Regions from separate parts of the Homo sapiens genome. Here all the other regions are linked to region 1. Evidence: promoter capture Hi-C in 16 types of primary human blood cells and fetal thymus (Javierre and others, 2016). All regions are on one chromosome and are shown on one strand. Each heading gives the region's core, a stretch centred on a gene start or on the middle of the fragment in contact. The rest is flanking DNA. Distances are from core to core; before and after follow the strand shown. Region 1 holds the start of LIG3 (DNA ligase 3). Region 2 holds the start of UNC45B (unc-45 myosin chaperone B). Region 3 overlaps FNDC8 (fibronectin type III domain containing 8).

Region 1 (3,805 bases), core at 373-2,872:
AATTAATTAATTTAATTTAATGACAATAAAAGGTATAGTATACTAAATATATAAACCAGCAACATCGTCCTTTATTATCATTATAAAGTTTTATATACTGTACATAATAGTGTGTGCTATGCTTTTATACAACTGGCAATGGAGTAGGTTCGTTTCCACCAGCATCTCCACAAACACATGAGTAATGTGCTGTCACTATATGATAGGGATTTTTCAGCTCCATTATAATCTTATGGGACCACCCTCATATATTTGGTCCATTGTTGGCCTAAATGTCATTATGTGGTACATATTATTAATGAGATATTTTACTTTTTTTAGTATGAATTTTTTGGTGTGTATTTTCTTCACTTATAGCACATCTCAATTCCATGCAACATTCAAGTGCTCAATAGTCACGTGTGGCTAGTGATTACAGCATTGGAAAAAGACAGATACGGTTGAGGAAACTTAAAAAAATGTAGCAAATGTAGTTGTAGAGACGTGCTCAAGATCACTCAATTATCATAGCTAGGACGTGAGTCTCCAGCGACCTTCCAATTGCCTGGTTGAACCAAAGCCCTGGTTCATTCTGCTGCGCATTAAAAGCAGGCTTTACTCCCCTCCAAACAGTAGAATCGCAGTTAAACTTAGTCAAACAAACTTAATGTATCCAATACAAAACTCATCTTTCTAACCCTAACACCTCCTCTTCCTCTCTATTTTCTATTTCAGTTGATGGTACCATTATGTTTCTGCTCACTCAAATTATTATTATTTTATCCATAAACGAGCACTTTATCTAGAAGATCATTTAAATTCTAAATGATCTTCAAAAACGCACTTTACTCTCCACCCTAACTAGCTGAATCATCTCCCACATGGGTCACTATGAGAGCCTTCTGATTTGTTCCCTTGCCTCAGTCTCTCCCCACCCAGCTTCAGCAGTATTCCCTAAGACTCTTCATGGCTCTCCGTCCTCTACAGAGTAAAGACGACACTCTTCATCACACAGCACAGAATTCTCTCGGGAACCTGTTCTTTGCTTACCTAACAAGGCCCAGTTGTTTGCTCTTCCTAGACTCTGAAGAGGTCACTTACCCTCAGGCTGCTACATTTGTAAAAATCGCCATCCCAACTCTCAAAGAGCTGGCTTCAGATTTGAGATAATACACTTTGAATGATATACAATCAAGGAGTTTCTCCTCCATCACTCCTTTACATTTTATATCTATCTGCTGTTTAGTGCCTCGTCTCAATTCCATGAAAGCTACTGAATACAAACTATTTACTAGGGAGTCTGCGGGACACAAACAGAGGGATTATATTTAAAAAATAGATTGACGCGATCTTTGCCTTCCCCGACCTCATTACAATATAGTTTCTCCACCAATATCTTTAAAAACAGATCCTCTCTAACAGTATGAGAAAATCAAGGGGAGCCTCGGAAGTTCAGGCCAGGCTGCGTTCCGAGGAGCCGCCACGTCCCCCCACCTCCGCTTCCCGGGCCGCGATTGCAGGTTGAAAACTACTCCCAAACATCACAGGGCAGGCAGAATGCAACTACGACCCACGTGGCAGACGGGGGCGGGGACCGGTCGCGTGGCCGCGGCCTTGGCTCTTGCGCCTGCGCGCTGCCTCCCGCTCTAGGACCCGGATTTAAAGAGACAGGCGCTCCAACCGTCGTGGGCTGCCCGCGGCCTGTAATGAGCAAGTTCCGAGGCCTACGGTGAGCGCCGGAGCCGGAGAGGCAGGTGAGGGGCTACGCGGCGCGGCACGGCGCGGCGGGGCCCGGCGTGGGGAAGGCAGCGGGCCCGGGGCGAGGAGCTCGGCGCGGCCGGGGAGCCAGCCCCCCGGCTCCTCCCCCGCCCGCCTGCGGAGCCCCGGGGCACACCCTCCGTGACGTGGCGGCCCTCCCGGGAGCCCAGGGGGAGGCTCGCGGCTCCCCGGGACCCCCACGGGGCCGCGTGAGGCGGGGAGGCCGGCGCCCGGGCTGTGTTCCCTGTGGAACCCACGGGGCCTTCTCGTACCCTGGCCCGGCGTGCGTCCTCCTGCGCTGAACCGGGAGCGCTCGGGTGGGACTCAGGGAGCCTTGATCACTTCCCGCCTGCGTCCCGGACCCGGTGGAGGAGCGCTCCTTTCTGCCTCGCCGGGGGTCGCGGCCTACGCCGCCGACCCCACTGTCCCCGCCACTCTCCGACAGCGGCGCGGGAAGCCCTTCGAGAAAAGCGGCGGCGGCCAGGCCTCAGCGATTTCCTTCTCGGGCCCCTGGGCTGCGGCAGTTGTGAGGGTGCGGAACGAGGGACAGACGGGTTTCCTCAAAGCTGCATTGTGCCTCCTCGTGGCCCAGCGCCTCCCGAGCCTCCCTCAAGTCCACTCCTTTCATTATTGGGGCCCTAGAGGTTGCTCTGTAAATTGATCTTCTAGGAAAAGTGTTGAAACTCACTTGTTCTGACCTCCTTTTATGGGTCTGCCGTACTTCCACTTACCTCACCTCTGTGGTTCTTAAACTTTGGGAGTTATATAGCCCTTTGTGAATATCACGAAAGTGATAGACCTCCTCCAAAAAACCGTGCATTTTTATCGAATGTACATTTTGTATACATTTTTAGAGAGCTCAGAACAGCCTCCCTCCCCCACAACCAGCGCATTCATGGATTCCTTGTAATTTTCCCAACTACCCTGTGAGGTAGGTATTATTTACCCTGCTTTAGAAATAAGAAAACAGATGCAGATAAATTAAGAGTTTTCTCCGAGGTAACAGTCAGTAAACTGTACAGTCAGACTTGCACTCCCATCCCTTATTCCAGGTCCACCAGCTTTCCTTCACATCATGTTGCACTACAGTAAGCAAAGCCTGCTTTTTATTATAACGTGACAGCAATTTTGCTTCACAGCGTGTGCAGACTGAACATAATTCCAGTATACTTAAAACTAGGACTATAAAATGCTTTAGAAAACATGAATATAAGAAGATGCTGATATAATCTTTTTCCATTTGGATTGATTTATGAGTTCCTGTGAGTCTTGCTGCCCAGTGACTTCAGCATTCTCTGATTCAAGTTGCTGAATGATAAACAGGTTAATTGCACATCGGAAGCCTCTTCTTGAAAGATAACGACGTCACCGATCATAATAGGAGCTGACGTTAATGAGAGCTCTTGCTGTGTGCCCAACTGTTTTAAGGGTTTTACTCTTAGAACAGCTCTTTAAGTTAGGCCCCATAATTAGCCACATTTTACAGATAAGGAAGCTCAGGAACAGAGGTAAGAAACCCATCAAGGTTATACAGCTGGTAAGTGGCTGAGTTAGGATTTGAACTCAGGCAGTCTGATTCCAGGCTCTGCTTAGTTGTCTCTCAATATAGGGATTCTAACTCAATTCCAAATCTATATAGTGGCTTGATTTCTGAGGATGGCATATGTGTTAAACTTCACAATAAAAACTTCATGAACATAATGTAATTTTTACTGGTGATTAAAACGAAACTTCAGGGCCAGGCACGGTGGCTCATGTCTGTAATCCCAGCACTTTGGGAGGCCGAGGCGGGCGAATCACCTGAGGTCGGGAGTTGGAGACTAGCCTGACCAACAAGAAGAAACCCCGTCTCCATTAAAAATACAAAAAAGTTAGCCGGGCGTGGTGGCGCATGCCTGTAATCCCAGCTACTAGGGAGGCTGAGGCAGGAGAATCGCTTGAACCCGAGAGGAGGAGGTTGCGGTGAGCCAAGATCGCGCCAATGTACTCCAGCCTGGGCAATTAAAGTGAAACTCCGCCTCAAAAAAAAAAAAAAAGAAAGTTCAGGATCTTGTAATACTTAAAGGTC
Region 2 (3,805 bases), core at 791-3,290, 170 kb after region 1:
CCCCACACCATTACAAACGCTTGGAATATGTGAGGGAACAACATAGACACAAATCCTTGTCCTCACCAGTGTTCTATGCTTCACAGTTCCTCACACATAATAAATGTTTAAGAAATGTGGGCCAGGCGCGGTGGCTCACGCCTGTAATCCCAGCACTTTGAGAGGCCTAGGCAGGTGGATCACGAGGTCAGGGGTTCAAGATCAGCCTGGCCAACATGGTGAAACTCCATCTCTACTAAAAATACAGAAATTAGCCAGGCATGGTGGTGGATGTCTGTAATCCCAGCTACTCATGAGGCTGAGGCAGGAGAATCTCTTGAACCCAGAAGGTGGAGGTTGCAGTGAGCCGAGATCGTGCCACTGCACTCCAGCCTGGGCAACAGAGCAAGACTCTGTCTCAAACAACAACAACAACAACAACAAAAAGATGTTTAAGAAATGCTTGTGGAATGAATTACTGAATCAGCATTTGAATATAAGATCCCTTGGACCTAAAGTCACAGAACCGCAGGTCTCTGCCAATGTCAGGATCCTTTATCCTATTACCTCATTGCTGCAGAGAGCTTGCCCCACAAAAGGGCCCAGGGCTTGTGATAACATGAAGGCAGGGAATTCATCCATCTATTCATTCATTTATTTGCTCATTCAACAAACATGTGTTAGGGCTGGGCTTTGTGTCCAGCAGGGCGCTACAACTTGTCCAAGGTCATATAGCTGTGTGTCCAAGGTCACAGGTCTGCGAGTAGAATCTAGTATGAATGATTCCACCTGGGATTTTCTTCAGTGTCTTTCTCAGCTCTGGCCAGATAAGTTTGAAGATATGTGTGGGGTGGAGGGGAGAGGGATGAGAGGTGAGTGGAGGAAATCATCATCATGAAGACACCATTCATTCATTCATTCATTCATCCATCCATTCATTCCATTCAGGAAACACACTTCGGACACTGAATGTGCCAGAACCTGTGCAGGAAGGGGGTTGGGGGACAAGCTATATGGGATGCTGTCTTTGCCTTCCAGGAGGAAGCTCACAGCCCAGGCTTGAGGGCACTGAAATGCAGAAGAGTTCTGGGTCCAACTGGGGACAACGTCATAAATTTGCTTCAGGAACTCCCAGTTAGCTAAGGAGAAACATTCCTGCCTCAGGAGAGACCCCTCTGCAATGGTGAATACATAGTTCTTGTCCCAGGAAGACCCCCTTCTGAGGAGGGAGCCTCAGTGTGTCCCAGGATAGTTTCCAGTCGGGTGGGGAGGACCCTTGGTCTCGGGGGAATTCCCAGTCTGACCCAGCCCTTGCCCTAAGAGATCTCAGCCTGATGGGGGATACACAAAGCCCACTCTCTGGGAGCTAACAGTCAGATGGGAGAGGTAGGCTGAATAGATCCACTCTATACACAGGGGGAGGAACAGGAGACCGCATGTGGACCGAAACTAACGAACCACTCACTCACACTAAACTGAGTTAGCAAGTCCTGTTGGTCTTTCTGAAAAGCAAAGACATTTTGAACAGGTGAAAGCAGGGTGGGTTGAGGTGTTGCGCAGAAGTGGAAAAGGGAAGGAACTTTCTTCCCCTGTTCCTTCCCCGCTCCCTCCAGAAAGGTATTTCTGGAACTCTCCAGTTGGTCTGGGATCTGGGCAACTGCTGTGTGTCCCAGTCTGTCAGCCCCTCAGCTGTCACTCTGCTCCCAAAAATAGCAATGGTTGAGGGGAGGGAGAGGAAGCTGTTTATCTGGGATAGATGTGGAGAGGTGCATTAGAGCTGTGCCCAGGGAGGGAGTCTGCTGGGGGGTTCCTGTCCCTTCTGGATCTTTCTGTCACTCTTTGGAATGTTAGTGCCTAAGCCCCCCACCAGGATAACCCAGAGTGGGGTGCTTGGGCGGAGGCTGGTCAGCACCTCCACGTGGTCATGACTGACCAGTCTGGGGAGGGGGAGGGCCCTGAGTATCAGTGACAGACTCCAGGGGCACCTGCCCCTGTGGCCAAATATGGTCCAGAGCCACTGGCTGAGGCAAGAAAATCTCTTGGGTGGGGGCTGGGAGGGGCAGACTGAGGCTGGCTGGCTGGAGGTTGACACAGGAGTGCTCAGGGGAGCAGCATCACAAGAGGGCAGATCGAAAGCATCGTCCTTGCTGAAAAAGTGAGCATGGGCCTGGGGTGTGCCCTGGACTGGGGAGGGAGACGGCAAACTTCTAAGACCTGCAATGAGAGTTCAGGCCTTTGGCACAAACTAAGCAGCTTCGCCTGCTCAGGCTGGGAGGGACAGAGAGTGAGGCACAGGGACTCTCAACTTGGGCCAAGCTCTGAGCAAATGCTATAATGTCCTCATGGGGCAATAGATTTGGGGGTTCTGGGGGTGGGTCCCTTCCAGGCAGAATCCCCACCATCCTCTCTGGTGTGAGGGGACCCTGGAGCTCCGGACCTCAGGCCAGGAGCCCAGCCCTGGGTCTGCAGTGAGGGGCTGACCAGACAGAGCTTCTCCTGTCCCAGCAGATGGCAGAGGTGGAAGCGGTACAGCTGAAGGAGGAAGGAAACCGGCATTTCCAGCTCCAGGACTACAAGGCCGCCACAAATAGCTACAGCCAGGCCCTGAAGCTGACCAAGGACAAGGCCCTGCTGGCCACGCTTTATCGGAACCGGGCAGCCTGTGGCCTGAAAACGGTCTGGGGCAGGGCAGGGCACAGGGTGGGAGTGAGGCAGAGGGGCTTTGGGGCTGAGTGGCAGCCCCTTCACCCTGATAGAAATTGCCCTTCATCCCAGCCGACTCTCCTGGATGCCTGGGGTTGGAGAAGGGTGCCTCCAACCCCCTGACCCATGCCCCGGAAAGACAGAAATTCATCCAGAGCAGAATCAGCCCAATGCCAGGTGCTTTCATGTGTTATTCATGGCATCTTACTAATGGCCCGTGAGATAGCTGTTGTTGTCCTCCCCCTATCGCAGGTAAGAAACTCGGGATCCAGAGGGCTTCATTCATTAACTTGCCCAAGCTCTCCCAAGTAGTAGCAGAGCCGAGATTCAAACCTGGGTTTGCCTGATGTCAAAGCCTGTCCTCTTTGCCATGCCTGTGAGGAGCATGCCCTGGGCCTCTGACAGCCTGCAGCTCCCCCAGGAAACCCTCTCCCCACACTGTGGGGACACTCTCTGGCCATCTCTGCATTGGGCCCACATTAACCGAGTCTCCTTCTCCTTCCCCTTTCCTCAGGAGAGCTACGTCCAGGCAGCTTCAGATGCCTCCAGAGGTGAGCCCCTCCCACCTCCAAGCTTGCCCTGTCACATTCTCCTCTGCATGGCCTGGGTTTTAATCTAGTTACCATTTTGGGGGAAGAAACAGTGAGTATGGAGTGACTTCAGAAGGGAGAGAACAAGCTGGAGAAGGGACTGGAAACATATCCTGTGAAGAGCAGTTGAGGGAAGCTGCAATATTTAGCCCAGAAAAGGCAACTCCCAGGTGGGTCAGAGAGCTGCCTTCAAATTCCTAAAAGGCTGTCACAAGGAAGAAGGATTGGATTTCATCTCAAGGGTTCCAGGGCTGGGCAATGTTACAGGGAACACATTTCAGGCAGGGAGAGGGAAATGTTTTCTGATTAAGCTGCCTGGCTGTCTTTTGTTGTTGTTGTTGTTTGTTTTGTTTTGTTTTTTGGGTTTTGTTTTGTTTTGTTTTTTTGAGATGGAGTCTTGCTCTGTTGCCCAGACTGGAGTGCAATGGCATGATCTCAACTCACTGCAACCTCTGCCTCCCGGATTCAAGCAATTCTCCTGTCTCAGCCTTCCAAGTAGCCGGGATTATAGGCGTCTGCCACCACGCCCAGCT
Region 3 (3,805 bases), core at 758-3,257, 150 kb after region 1:
CTGGGATCATCTTCCAGAGTCCTCCAGTGTTAGACTACTTTATAGACTTTTCTGTAAGTAATAGGGAACAGCTTTGTAAAAAGCTTCACATCAGATGATGAAAGCAATTCGAGCTGTATCTTGGGAGGATGCCTGGAATTCCACTGTTGGATGGCCCAGAGCAGTGTTTCTCAAAGTGCTCTCCAGATGGACAATGTCAGCATCACTCAGCAAATTGTTACAAATTTAAATTCTCATCTCCCTCCACCACATTTGGGCCTCCTGAGTCAGAAACTGTTGGGGCGGAGCCCAGTAATCTATCTTTTAATAAGTCCTCCAGGGTATTCTAATGCACACCAAGTTTGACAAACACTGGCCTAGATGGAGGAGAAACCAGACAGGAGGCAGCAGGCCCAGAAATCTGCAGTTACAAAATCTCCCTGAGATGCTTAGCCAGGCTTGGCAACCATTGTAGTACAAAGTGTATGGGCTCTGGAGCTATGGGTTTGAACACTGGCTGTCACTTAATTGCCGTATGATGATGGACCAGTCACTTGCCCTCTCTGGACCTAGTCGATAAGATGATCTCTAAGGTCCCTCTCAGCTAACAGAGTCTAGACAGAGTCTAGAACCAACCTTTTTGGCACCAGGGACTGGTTTCATGGAAGATAATTTTTCCATGGATCCGGTTGGGGGGATGGTTTCAGGATGAGTCAAGCATATTACATTTATTGTGTACTTTATTTCTATTATTATTACATTGTAATATATAATGAAATAATTATACAACTCACCATAATGTAGAAACTGTGGGAGCCCTGAGCTTGTTTTCCTGCAACGAGAGGGTCCCATTTGGGGGTGATGGGAGACAATGACAGATCATCAGGCATTAGATTCTCATAAGGAGCATTCAACTTAGATCCCTCCCATACAATTCACAATAGGGTTCACGTGCCTATGGGAATCTAATGCCTCTGCTGATCTGACAGGAGGCAGAGCTCAGGTGGTACCCTGAGCCGTGGGGAGCAGCTGTAAATACAGATGAAGCTTCGCTTGCTCGCCCACCAATCTCCTCCTGCTGTGCTATCCAGTTCCTAACAGGCCATGGACTGCTATCAGTTGGTGGCCCAAGGGTTGAGGACCCCTGGCGTATAAGAAATATGGAATGAGGGTGTACCCTAAAGTGGGTGGGGCTGCCCAGGAGAGTAGTACATGCTTCGGGGCAGGGGTTCCACACTCAGTGCTGCAGTACCTTGCACCTTCCATCTGACCTGCCTGGGCCCCAGCAGGAGCAGGGGATGGGCATGGGACGTCCTGACCCCAGTTGGGAGGGTGAAGGGACAGGAAGGACAGGACATATCTGAGGAAGCCTCGGGGCTCTCTCTTCCCCTAGATTTCCTGGACCTACGCCTTGGGCAAGCAGCCGGTCAGTTTCTACCAGCTCCTGTTACAGGAGGTGGCCAAGACACAGGAGAATGAGTTGCCCGAGGCAAAGAATCGTCCATGGATCTTCAACAAGATTTTGGGCACTACTGTCAAGCTGATGGAGCTAAAGCCTAACACGTGTTACTGCCTCAGTGTCCGTGCAGCCAACACAGCTGGGGTGGGGAAGTGGTGCAAGCCCTACAAAGTGAGCCCTGGGAAAAGAGGGGCCTTGGGGGTGGAGAGAAGTCCAAAGCCAGGGAACCAGGGCTTTGGAGGTTGGGAACACCCCTATGCCCACATGACTCATCTGGCTAGCTTTCCTTCTGCCTGGGTCAAGAAGCATCAATTCCAGAATGCATGCTTCTGGGAGGTTTAAGGATTAAGCCACTCTGGGGCCCACTAGGAATGCAAACGAATGTATTTTTCAACATCACTATAATGTTCCCCTTCCAAAGCCATTGGTTTTTAGACTCTGCAATTCAGTGCCCATGATTGTGAGTAGGCTGGGAAGTCAAGGGCATTGAAAGAAATAGGGAAGACAAGAGGCTAAAGGGGGACGAAGAAGGGAACAGCCTGGGTATGGGGTAGGGGTATGGGGGTATAGAGGCCTGAGTACAGACAGCCCTTTGGTTGGAAATATCCCATAATGAGGAGGTACAGGCTTGAGTCATGCATCTTTGCACCTGTTTCCTGCGTCAATGGCTAGGTTGGATAAGGCTGTTTAAGGTCTGAGTCAGCAGACAGAAAAAAAAGGGGTGATAGAGACAGAGAGAGAGCCAGGTTCAGATCTGGGAAGGAACTCTGAAGGGTTTTCTTGTTTCACTTCAGTTTGCAACCCTGGCCACTGACTTCAGCAGCTTTCCTGAGAACTACCCCATCCAGATCACCGTGCGGCGCAAGGAACCCCGGCAAAAGATCGTGTCCATCGGGCCGGAGGAGATGCGGAGGCTGGAGGATCTGGAATACCTATTTCCCTGTTAAGGGGGAGGGCCCCAGGACACCCCTCACCTACTTTCAGCTTCAACCCCAGGCCCTCAGAAACCAGAGCCATGAGACCTACCATACCACCAGCACCCTGCGGGCCCGGGGTCTGGCAGAGTGGTATGGGCACCCCACCCCTGGGCTGGGGCCAAGGCTACATAGGGGCCCCATTCACCTGGAGGCATCTCAGGCCAGGCCATGCCAGGCTCAGCCACTGCCCACAGCTGCTAGACTCCCTCCTCCTCCAAATCTGGGCTGGGTCTAGGTCCCTCATTAAAGAACTGCAGGTCATCCAGCACCCTAAAGTCTGCTTTATGCTGCAGACAGCCTCAGATGGGCTGGCTGGCACCCACCTCCTAGCTTCCACCAGGACAGAGTCTACATGGGTGGGGAGATAGAAAACAGGCAGCTAGGCAATAGGATGCTGCCATCACCCCTTCCCCAGTGGGGCGGGGTAGGGGAACAGGGAGACTGGTGCTCTAAGACTAAAAGGCTCTTACACCAGAAAAATACAGAAATAGCTGTCATGGACAGACGTGGTGGCCCATGAACTGTCAAACTAGCTTGAGCTCTGGACGGAGGGATGTGGTACAAAGTGCACAATAAGCTTTGGGGCAGGGCCTGGTTTAATCCCAGCTTTCTCTTACTAGATGTGAGGGCATGGGCTAATCATTTCTTATGTTGTTTCCTCATCAAAAGTTTTGGAGCTTGAGAACCTTCCAGGCCTGGTGCAGTCTGAGAGCACAGCAGACAAACAGCTGGCACCAAGGAGCTCAGTGGCTGATAGTTTTGTTCGCTTCTTATGTAGCCTCACTGCAGATATGTGCAAGGTGGAGGCCAAGCACCACAGCTAGGTGACGCGCAAAACCCAAAAGCACAGACAAGGGTGGAGGAGGGTAAGAAGGAGCAAGATGCTAGTTCTGAGCAGTTTATACAAGGATGGTTTGGAAATCCAATCTGAGTAGTTCAGACCATGACCCTGCTTAGCATGGGATGCAGGAGAAAGCAGAGGCAGGGTACATTCAGGGCAAGATCTCGGCCTGGGGTCTGAGTCCTGATGGGAATTCCTTTCACTGCTTGAAAGTTCTCGTGGCAAAGAACTTCCTCTGTATCAACAATACCCACTTCTGCTCAGAGCTCATACTGCTGCCTCCCCATCTGAGGGAATCCTCTGGAAGAGCCATCACCTTCCCCGCTCTATCCCATGGGCCCAGGGCAGTGCTTGGTGCCTGGCAGGGCCTCAAGCAGTGTGCTATGCGAAGGCAGAGGCATCCCCTGGAGCAGGGCTGACCAGCAGAACTCTCTTGATGATGAAAACCTTTCTGTGTGCTGTCCAATACTGGAGGCCTTACCCAGTGCGATGGAGGAACTGCACTTCTATTTCATGCCAGCAGTCACATGTGGCCGGTGCCTACTGCAG

Evidence for each region. The method cuts DNA at HindIII sites, captures the fragments that hold promoters and counts their contacts. A CHiCAGO score of 5 or more calls a contact.
Region 2: the fragment with the promoter of UNC45B here is called in contact with the fragment with the promoter of LIG3 in region 1 in 1 of 17 cell types (activated CD4 T cells); the score reaches 5.3 in activated CD4 T cells.
Region 3: a contact is called between a fragment that was not itself captured here and the fragment with the promoter of LIG3 in region 1, in 16 of 17 cell types (megakaryocytes, activated CD4 T cells, erythroblasts and 13 more). The highest score is 11.9, in megakaryocytes.

Annotation. Positions count from the first base shown.
Region 1 is chr17:34,978,890-34,982,694 of GRCh38, forward strand. LIG3 (DNA ligase 3) reads left to right here and starts at 1,623. Exons shown (of 20, transcript NM_013975.4): 1 at 1,623-1,733. RefSeq lists a silencer at 1,648-2,077. The HindIII fragment of the contact is 8,847 bases long and covers 1-3,805 here.
Region 2 is chr17:35,145,777-35,149,581 of GRCh38, forward strand. UNC45B (unc-45 myosin chaperone B) reads left to right here and starts at 2,041. Exons shown (of 20, transcript NM_001267052.2): 1 at 2,041-2,134; 2 at 2,488-2,655; 3 at 3,197-3,233. The coding sequence starts at 2,488. The HindIII fragment of the contact is 5,031 bases long and covers 1-3,253 here.
Region 3 is chr17:35,128,050-35,131,854 of GRCh38, forward strand. FNDC8 (fibronectin type III domain containing 8) reads left to right here. Exons shown (of 4, transcript NM_017559.4): 3 at 1,373-1,609; 4 at 2,233-2,683. The coding sequence ends at 2,385. It overlaps NLE1 (notchless homolog 1), which reads right to left. Exons shown (of 13, transcript NM_018096.5): 13 at 681-3,805. Among named protein-coding and RNA genes, the nearest start is that of FNDC8, 8.3 kb to the left of the region's middle. The HindIII fragment of the contact is 1,966 bases long and covers 1,025-2,990 here.